Linked DNA regions of Homo sapiens: all the other regions are linked to region 2. The links are contacts of gene promoters, found by promoter capture Hi-C in human tissues and cell types (Jung and others, 2019). All regions are on one chromosome and are shown on one strand. Each heading gives the region's core, a stretch centred on a gene start or on the middle of the fragment in contact. The rest is flanking DNA. Distances are from core to core; before and after follow the strand shown.

Evidence for each region. Contacts are between HindIII fragments. The study calls those that stand out against the background at their distance.
Region 1: a fragment that was not itself captured here is called in contact with the fragment with the promoter of DSCAM in region 2 in 6 of the 25 tissues and cell types used here (dorsolateral prefrontal cortex, hippocampus, lymphoblastoid cells and 3 more).
Region 3: a fragment that was not itself captured here is called in contact with the fragment with the promoter of DSCAM in region 2 in 3 of the 25 tissues and cell types used here (IMR-90 fibroblasts, dorsolateral prefrontal cortex and hippocampus).

What each region holds. Positions count from the first base shown.
Region 1 is chr21:40,802,770-40,805,469 of GRCh38, reverse strand. All of the region lies in intron 1 of DSCAM (DS cell adhesion molecule), which reads left to right. Among named protein-coding and RNA genes, the nearest start is that of DSCAM, 43 kb to the left of the region's middle. The HindIII fragment of the contact is 4,192 bases long and covers 1-2,700 here.
Region 2 is chr21:40,845,887-40,848,586 of GRCh38, reverse strand. It overlaps DSCAM (DS cell adhesion molecule), which reads left to right and starts at 1,429. Exons shown (of 33, transcript NM_001389.5): 1 at 1,429-1,968. The coding sequence starts at 1,926. The HindIII fragment of the contact is 24,098 bases long and covers 1-2,700 here.
Region 3 is chr21:40,895,992-40,898,691 of GRCh38, reverse strand. No RefSeq gene overlaps it. Among named protein-coding and RNA genes, the nearest start is that of DSCAM, 50 kb to the right of the region's middle. The HindIII fragment of the contact is 4,744 bases long and covers 1-2,700 here.

The sequences.
Region 1 (2,700 bases), core at 89-2,588, 43 kb after region 2:
GAGTTTACTCTTCTACTGCCTTCCAGTCTCCTGTCTGGACTCCTGTGGCCCTGAACACACCAAAAGTCAGAGGGCATGGAATCTCACTGATGTCATGATTACTGGTCAGCCTCATGAGCCAGAAGGCAGGATGGAGGGGGAATGAACAAACAGAAGGAACCCTCACAAAACAGAGAGGGGGAAAGAGAGATAGACATACAAGAGAGAGCTAGGAAAGTTGGCAGTGGCCAGATTTTAAGAGATACTTGGCTCATATTAAGATTAAGGTTTACTTGGAAGTCACTGGGCAGTCATCTGTGTGATCAGATTATTATAAGAAGAGAAGTAGCAGACTGGAGGGTGGATTTGAGAGGAGCAAGGGTGGATTCTAGAAGGCCATTTGGGAGGTCATGACAGCTCCCTAGGAGTTGGGGGGAAGTGAGCTAATTCAAGAATATTAGAAGAGTCTCGTTCAGACAGCTGAGTGGACGTGCCTTTCACTGATTTAGGAAACATTAGCATTAGACCAATTATGGGGGTGGGGAAGGAGAAAGCTTAAGTGCAGGTGTGATCATGGTCAGCTTGAAACACCTCTGAATACAATTGGGTGGGGTACAATGTAGCAGCGGGAAGTTAAGTCTGGAGCTCAGTAGATAGTCCTAGATGGAGGGGAATGTTGACTTATAGATGGGAATTTAGCAATGGATATAGTAGAGGTCTCTAAAGAGCACAGGTAGCATGAACAGATACAGAAGGCCTAGGACAGAATCCATAAAAATGTCAACATTTCAGGATTGTGCAGAGACAGATGACTGAGTAAAGAAGACTGAGAAGGAACAGATAAGTAGTCGAAAACCAAGTGGGCAGGGCAGGAGGCAGGTTAGGGTGAGTTGCAAAGTGGCTGAGAAATGAGAAAATGAAACCGTGGGGGCTCTCATCTTCTCCAGGAAGGTGTGCTGGGAACGGGGAGGGGAGATAGGGGCTAGCAGGCAGAGGGTGGTAGGAGCAGAGAGAGCCCTGCTGGGAAAGGAGGACTTGAGCCTACCTAAATGATGACCAGAGTCAGTGGAGAGGCAATGGCAATGGAAAGAACAAGGGTCCAGGAGGAACAGGATAATCATCAGGGAAAGGTTGGAATGCGGAAGGCAACCAAAGCATCCTGCAGAGCGTGCATTTTGAATTTCTGTGATCCTCTGGAAAAACAACCTTCTGTGCTTCAATTTAAAGGAAGGTGCATGGACTCTGTGCTCCCCTGATTCTGAACCACACTCCATCAGCAAGGCCACATCCACATTCAGAGCTCCAGGAAGCCTCCCCTATCCCTGTGGACAGGACTTGGGGAGTGGCCTTGTACTGCACAGGTCACTGTCTCCATTCTAACCTAAGTGAGGGAAGAGTGGATTGGTCCCTGGAGTGTTTACAGACTTGGTGCTGATGGAGGGGTGGTTTAAAGGATTTTTAGCTATTTCCCCCCTTTCTTTATTAAGCAGAAGAGAAGACTGGGTCCTGAGAGTAAAGAGTCTGAGGCTTGAGTAGGTTAGAGAAGGAGAAATGGTCATTTTGTAGAGCAGGAGAGGGGATGCTCCTTAGAGACACTGAAGGACCATTTAGGCTGGTGACGGCAAATTTATTGTGACACAAATCTTCCCAGCTGTGGGATTTTCCCCAACAACACTCAACGGTCCAGACACAGGTATAAAGGTGTTTTTTTTTTCCCCATTCTTCCCTTCCTCTTTTCCTTCCTGTCTGATCTATCCAAGTTGGAGTTCATTACCCACAGATTCTATACATAAATGCCAGTATATTCTATATATACTAAAGTCTGTAGATTCTAGTAATTCCTAACTCACCAACCAACTACAAGGTTTAACAATAATAGAATCACACATATGTCACCTTTCTAAATCATTAACCTGAGAGACGAAAGAGAAGGGGGAGTCTGGGGGCCCGAGATCAGTGACTAGAGGGTGTTGCAGCACTAAAACATCACACGATTGATCAGACCTATCATGGCTCTTTCACTTTCATGAACATTTTGTGTTTTGCTTTAACAGAATTTGAGTCACTCCTATAGGTGGCTTTAGTGGTCCTTCCCTGGGTGTTTTCTCAGACTTGTGGTGGGTAATGGGGTAGCATATGTGTGCTCACGTGACAGAGTGGAGTTCTCATCATTTCACTGCCTTCTTGGCAAACAGAGGCAATGAGAACGTCAAAGGCATCATTTGCATTTGTAAAGCAAAAGCCAGTGATCACATCTGTATCTACCATATGGCAGATGTTCCATAATTATTTTGAAAAACATATGAGATTTCAGCTGTGCAGCACTTATTGGAGACTTGAGGAAAGAAATTTAGGGGCAAGAAATTTAGGAATGAGTATTATTTTCCTCTTAGAAACTGACTTCTCTGACTTACCCTAAATTTAGTACTTCCAAAGAGAATAACAGATTTTCATCATTGTAAAATATCAGCAAAAACAGACCAAAGTGCTGCCATAAGGAAAGGAATTCTGTTAGTGGTACCTTGTCTGTCTAGTTGTGAGGTGTGGTCAGCTGCGTAATGCTGTCACTTCCCCAGGATATCCATGTCTGTATTAGTCTGCTTTCTGTTGCTTGTAACAGAATTCTAGAAATGTGTAATTTATAAAGAAAAGGAATATGGTTCTTACTGTTATGGAGGCTAACAAGTCCAAGGTCAAGGGGCCACATCTGGTGAAGGTCTT
Region 2 (2,700 bases), core at 180-2,679:
GTGCTGTCAACGGATGGAAAGATCTTCACACCTCTGTGAGTTAAGAACTGTGATAATTTCCAGTCTGCATATGAGGAAATTGAGGCTCGAGTCACATGCAGAAGCCCCACATCGGGGTAGTGGAGGAGCTGCAATTCGACCCTGGGTTTCCCTGACCCCAGTGCCTGGGCACCCTTGCAGGTGGCTAGTGTGCAAGTAAGAATTAATGAATAGGTCAACCAGCCAGATGCAGGGACAGAATCAGGCCCATCCCCTGCCTTCCTGGGTTGCATTTGGGAAGGACCAGGGACTGAGCACCCAGCATTTGCAAAGCCAGAGGATGCTGGTTCTGGTGCGTGGTACTGGGGGCTGGGCCTGCGCAGCCTGAGTGGGCGGCAGCACGTGATCACCTGCAGCTGCAGAGCCGTGGTGAGCCAGGCAGCATCACCGGCTCAGCTGACCCTTCCTGGTACACAGGGCCTGGCCATCTTGTGCCCAACCCTGGTAAAGCACCATTTTGTTTCTGCCTCACCATTTGCTTCTCCTGTGTTTTGTGAGCTGTCTGAGATGTGCATCATTCTTCTGTATTTGGAGGGGGACATGGAGCCCAGTTAGGATACCTAGTGCCTAGGAAAAAGCCTACTCAATTTCCCTTGAAAATGTCTCCCTTGACCCCCACCGAATGCTTTTTTTCAGTCCTGATTGTCCTGACTGTGAGCATTCCATCCTGGCTTCTACACTGGGGTGCATTCCAGCCCTGTCGGTCATTATATTGCAAAGTGATGGATAGATGTACGCCCTTGTGAGAGCTTTAATTTAAATATTATCATGACTTCAAGAATCATACAGAACATTCAGGAAATGTTAACATATTGACTTTTCACAGAAACGTGAAAGGGGCTATATGTTTGGGATTACTCAAATTATCAGCAATTTCAATCAGCTTTTTTATGCGCCATTCAGAGAGCAAAATTAGAAGTGCTTGTGTTTGCATTCTACCATGTATTCAAGATAATTAAAAATTAGCCCGTGAAATCATAGAGATCTTTACAGTAGCAGCAAGGATTTGGAAGGAGCATTTCCCTCTAAGCAAATGAACTGGACTTTTCTGAGAGTAAATACGGAATCGGAATCCAGCTGCACATTTTATTAAAACTACGAGCATTTCATGTTCACCTCTCCGTGGCTGGCCACCTTCCGCAATAGTCACCCCGGCCATCCCTTATTAGCAACCGGCAGGAAAATAACTAAAAATAAGCAGCTGTTGAAATGATTATTTAAGCCTCTAAGAAATTCCTCCTGATGACTGTGCGTGACTGTGCGGTGGCTGCGCTCTCCCCGGTCCTGCCTCAGTTCGGCTGCACGTCTCTGCTGCTGCTTTAAGACTGCAGAGCGCCCCAGCGGCCAGAGGCAGGGGAGGGGTCCCTGCTCGCCTCCGCGCTCGGCTTCACTCGCCCGGCTCGCAGGCAGGGAAGGTTGGCAGAGGGATCCATGTGACTGAGGCCGGAGCACGGCAAAGATGAGCCTGCCCGCCCGCCTGCTGCCTGGATGCGGAGGGTGAGGGCTGGCGCACGGGAGGCCGCTGGCTGCGCATTCTGGGCGCCGAGTGCCCGGGATGAGCTCACGCCCGCGTCTGCGGCTCTCTCCACCTGCCGACCTGCCGGGGGCCCACTGAGCTGACGGCGCACCTGGGCTCCGGCCGCAGCGTGGGGCGCGGCGCCCGGGAGCAGGTGTGCAGGAGCGCAGCGCGCGGCGAGCGCAGCCCTCGCTCCGGAGCCCGGCCGCGCCGCGTGCCCGGGCGGCTAGGCAGCGGCGGCGGCGGCGGCGGGCGGCGGGCGGGCGGCGGCCCCCGGGCAGGTGCCGAGCGGCGAGCGGAGCCGGGCCGGGCGGAGCGCGGGGGGCGAGGCCGGCGCGTCGCTCGCGGGAGGCCGGGGAGCGGCAGGGGCATGTGGATACTGGCTCTCTCCTTGTTCCAGAGCTTCGCGAATGGTGAGCCTTTCGGTTTGTGATGAATTTCGTTTCCTTATCATTGACCGGGGGGGCGGGGGGGTGGGGGGTGGCATTGGATGCATGGGTAAAGTCTTCTTTCTTTTTCCGCTTCATCTGTGTTTAAAATTTCGTGCTTTTATTTATTTTTTAAATATCATATTTATTTTTTGGGGGAGAAGAGGTGGCAATGGAGAGGCCCGGGAGAAATTGCTCTGTAATCATTGGAAGGCGCTTACCTAGCCAAGTGACAGCTCAGAGCCTAACTCCAGTACTAGAGAGCTGCCTCATTCAGAATAAACCAGGTTTGGTGACAGAAGGAGAGACAGGAAGATTGCCACTTTGAATATTACAACCTGGAAAGGGATGTGACATTCCAAGTGCACGCAAGTGGAGGGGTCAATGAGGAACATCTCCCTTCAGATTCAATGCTTTTTGAGATTTTTCAAACACGTAATTTCATGCTAGTACAATGTATCTCCAGCACCAAGGAGGGCTTTAAGAATGTTCTGTCCTTCTATGCACCCCGTGCTGCTTCATGCTCCTCACAGTCGTTTATGTAAAAATATGCACTGATAAGCATTACATCATCTGAAATGTTGACAAATTAAAAAAAAAAAAACACCTGTATAGTTGTAAAAATGAAATCAGTGAATATTGTAAATAGCATACATTTCCTCATGCCCAGCCAATATTATATTTTGAAATGATTTCTTCCTGGGTATTTAGAAAGCT
Region 3 (2,700 bases), core at 164-2,663, 50 kb before region 2:
GCTCCCCTTGGGTGGACTCTCACAGTATCTTCTTGTTCTTGAGTGGCAGTATGTTAGGCTGTTCTTGCTTTGCTATAACGGAATACATGAGACTGGCTAATTTATAAAGAAGAGAGGTTTAATTGGTTCATGTTTCTGAAGGCTGTATAGGAAGTATGGCATCAGCATCTGCTCTGCTTCTGGTGAGGCCTCAGGGAGCTTGCAGTCACGGTGGAAGGCAAAGGGGGAGCCAACATATCACACGGTGAGAGTGGGAGCAAAAGAGAGGGAGTAGTTGCCACAGATTTTTAAACAACCAGATCTTCTGAGAACATGCTCACTATCAAGGACAGCACCAAGGGGTTGGCATTAAACCATTCATGAGAAATCTGCCTTCATGAACCCATCACCTTTCACCAGGCCCCACCTCCAACACTGGGGATTCAATTCAACATGAGATTCAGAGGGAACAACCTCTAAACTACATCATTCCACTCCTGGCCCCTCAAATCTCATGTTCTTCTTCCACTGAGAAATATAATCATCCCCAGCCAGTAGTTTCCCAAAAGTCTGAATTCATTTTAGCATCACTCAAAAGTCCAAAGTCCCAAGTCCAAAGTCCCATCTGGAGTTGAGTCCCTACCACCTATGAGTCTGGAAAATCAGAACAAATTACTTGCTTTTAAGATACAATGGGGGTACAGGCATTGGTTAAACATTCACATTCCAAAAGGGATAAATCAGCCAAAAAGACAGGGGCTATTTACATGTACAGCCCCCACACAAGTGCAAAACCAAGCAGGGCAGTCATTAAATCTTCAAGTTCCAAAGCAGTCTCCTTCAACTCCACGTCCTGCATCCAGGGAACACAGGTGCAAGGGTTGGGTTCCCAAAGCCATGGCAGCTCTGCTTCTAGGCTTTGCATGGTTCAGTCCCCACAGCTGCTCTCATAGGCTGCAGTTAAGTGCCTGTGGCTTTTCCAGGGTACAAGCTGCTTATGGATCTACCATTTTGGGGTCTGGGGGAAAGTGACCCCCTCCCTACAGCTCCACTACGCAGTTCCCACACTGGGAACTCTGTGTACGGGCTCACACCCCATATTTCCCTTCATGACTGCCCTAGTAGAGGTTGTCTATGAGGGTTCTGCCCCTGAGATAGGCTTCTTCCTGGGCACTCTGGCTTTCCCATCCATCCTATGAAATGTAGACAGAGGCTGCCAAACATTCTTCACTTTTGCACTCTGTGAACCTACAGGCTTAACACTATGTGGAAGCCACTGAGGCTGATGGCTCTCTCCCTCTAGAGTGGAGGCCCAGGCTGTAACTTGGCCCCTCCAGCTGCAGCTGGAGTGACTGGAATGCGAGAAGCAAAGTCCTATGACTGTGCAGGGGATTGTGGCCCTGGTCCTGGCCCCCCAAAACATTATTTGCTCCTAGAACCCATGGCCTGTGATGGGAGGGGCTGCCTCAGAGATCTCTGAAATGTCTTTGAGACCTTTTCCCCCCTTGTTTTGGCTATCAGCACCTGGCTCCCTTTTAGTTACGCAAATCTCTCTAATAAGTGGTTGTTCTGTAGCTCACTTGGATTCTTCCACTGAAATTGGGCTTTTCTTTTCTACCACATGGCCAGGCTGCAAATTTTCCAAATGTTTCTGATATGCTTCCCCTTTAAATATAACTTCCAACTTTAAGTCATTTCTTTGCTCCTATGTCTAAGAGTAGGTTGTTAGAAGCAGCCAAGACACATCTTGAATGCTTTGTAGCTTAGATTTTTTTTTTCTACCAGTTACCCTAAATCATCACTCTTAAGTTCAAATTTCCACAGATCTCTAGGGCGTGAACACAATGCAACCAATCTCTTTGCTACAGCATAACGTGGATGACTTGTGCTCTAGTTCCCAATAAGTTCCTTATTTCCATCTGAGACCTCAGCAGGCTGAACTTCACTGTTCATATCACTATCAGCATTTTGGTCACAATCATCTAACAAGCCTCTAAGAAGTTCTAAACTTTCCCTCGTCTTCCTGTCTTCCTCTGAGCCCTCCAAAATCTTCTAACCTCTGCCTGTTACCCAGTTCCAAAGTCACTTCCACATTTTCATGTATCTTTACAGTAATATCTCACTCCTGATAACAATTTTCTGTGTTATGTAGTTCTTGCATTGCTATAAAGGAATACCTAAGACTGAGTAATTTATAAAGAAAAGAGGTTTAGCTGGCTTATGGTTTTGCAGGTTGTACAGGAAGCATGATACTGACCATCTGCTCAGCTTCTTGTGAGTCCTCGGGGAGCTTGCAATCATGGAGGAAGATACAGAAGAAGCCAGCACATCACATGGTGAAAGCAAGAGCAAGAGAGAGAGGGAGGAGTTGCCACACACTATTAAACAGCTAGATCTCATGAGAACTCACTATCACAAGAATAGCATCAAGAGGATGATGCTAAATCATTCATGAGAAATCCACCCCTGTGATCCAATCACCCCCAACCAGGCCCCATGTCCAGTACTGGGGATTACAATTCAACATGTGATTTAGAGAGGACACACATGCAAACTACATGAATCAGTGAGTACAACAGCCTCTTTCAGGTCTCTAATGGTTTGGTTGTGTCCCTCCCCAAACCTCATCTTAAATTGTAACTCCCACAATTCCCATGTGTTGTGGGACGAACCCGGTAGGAGATAATTAAATCATGGGTATAGGTCTTTCCCATGCTGTTC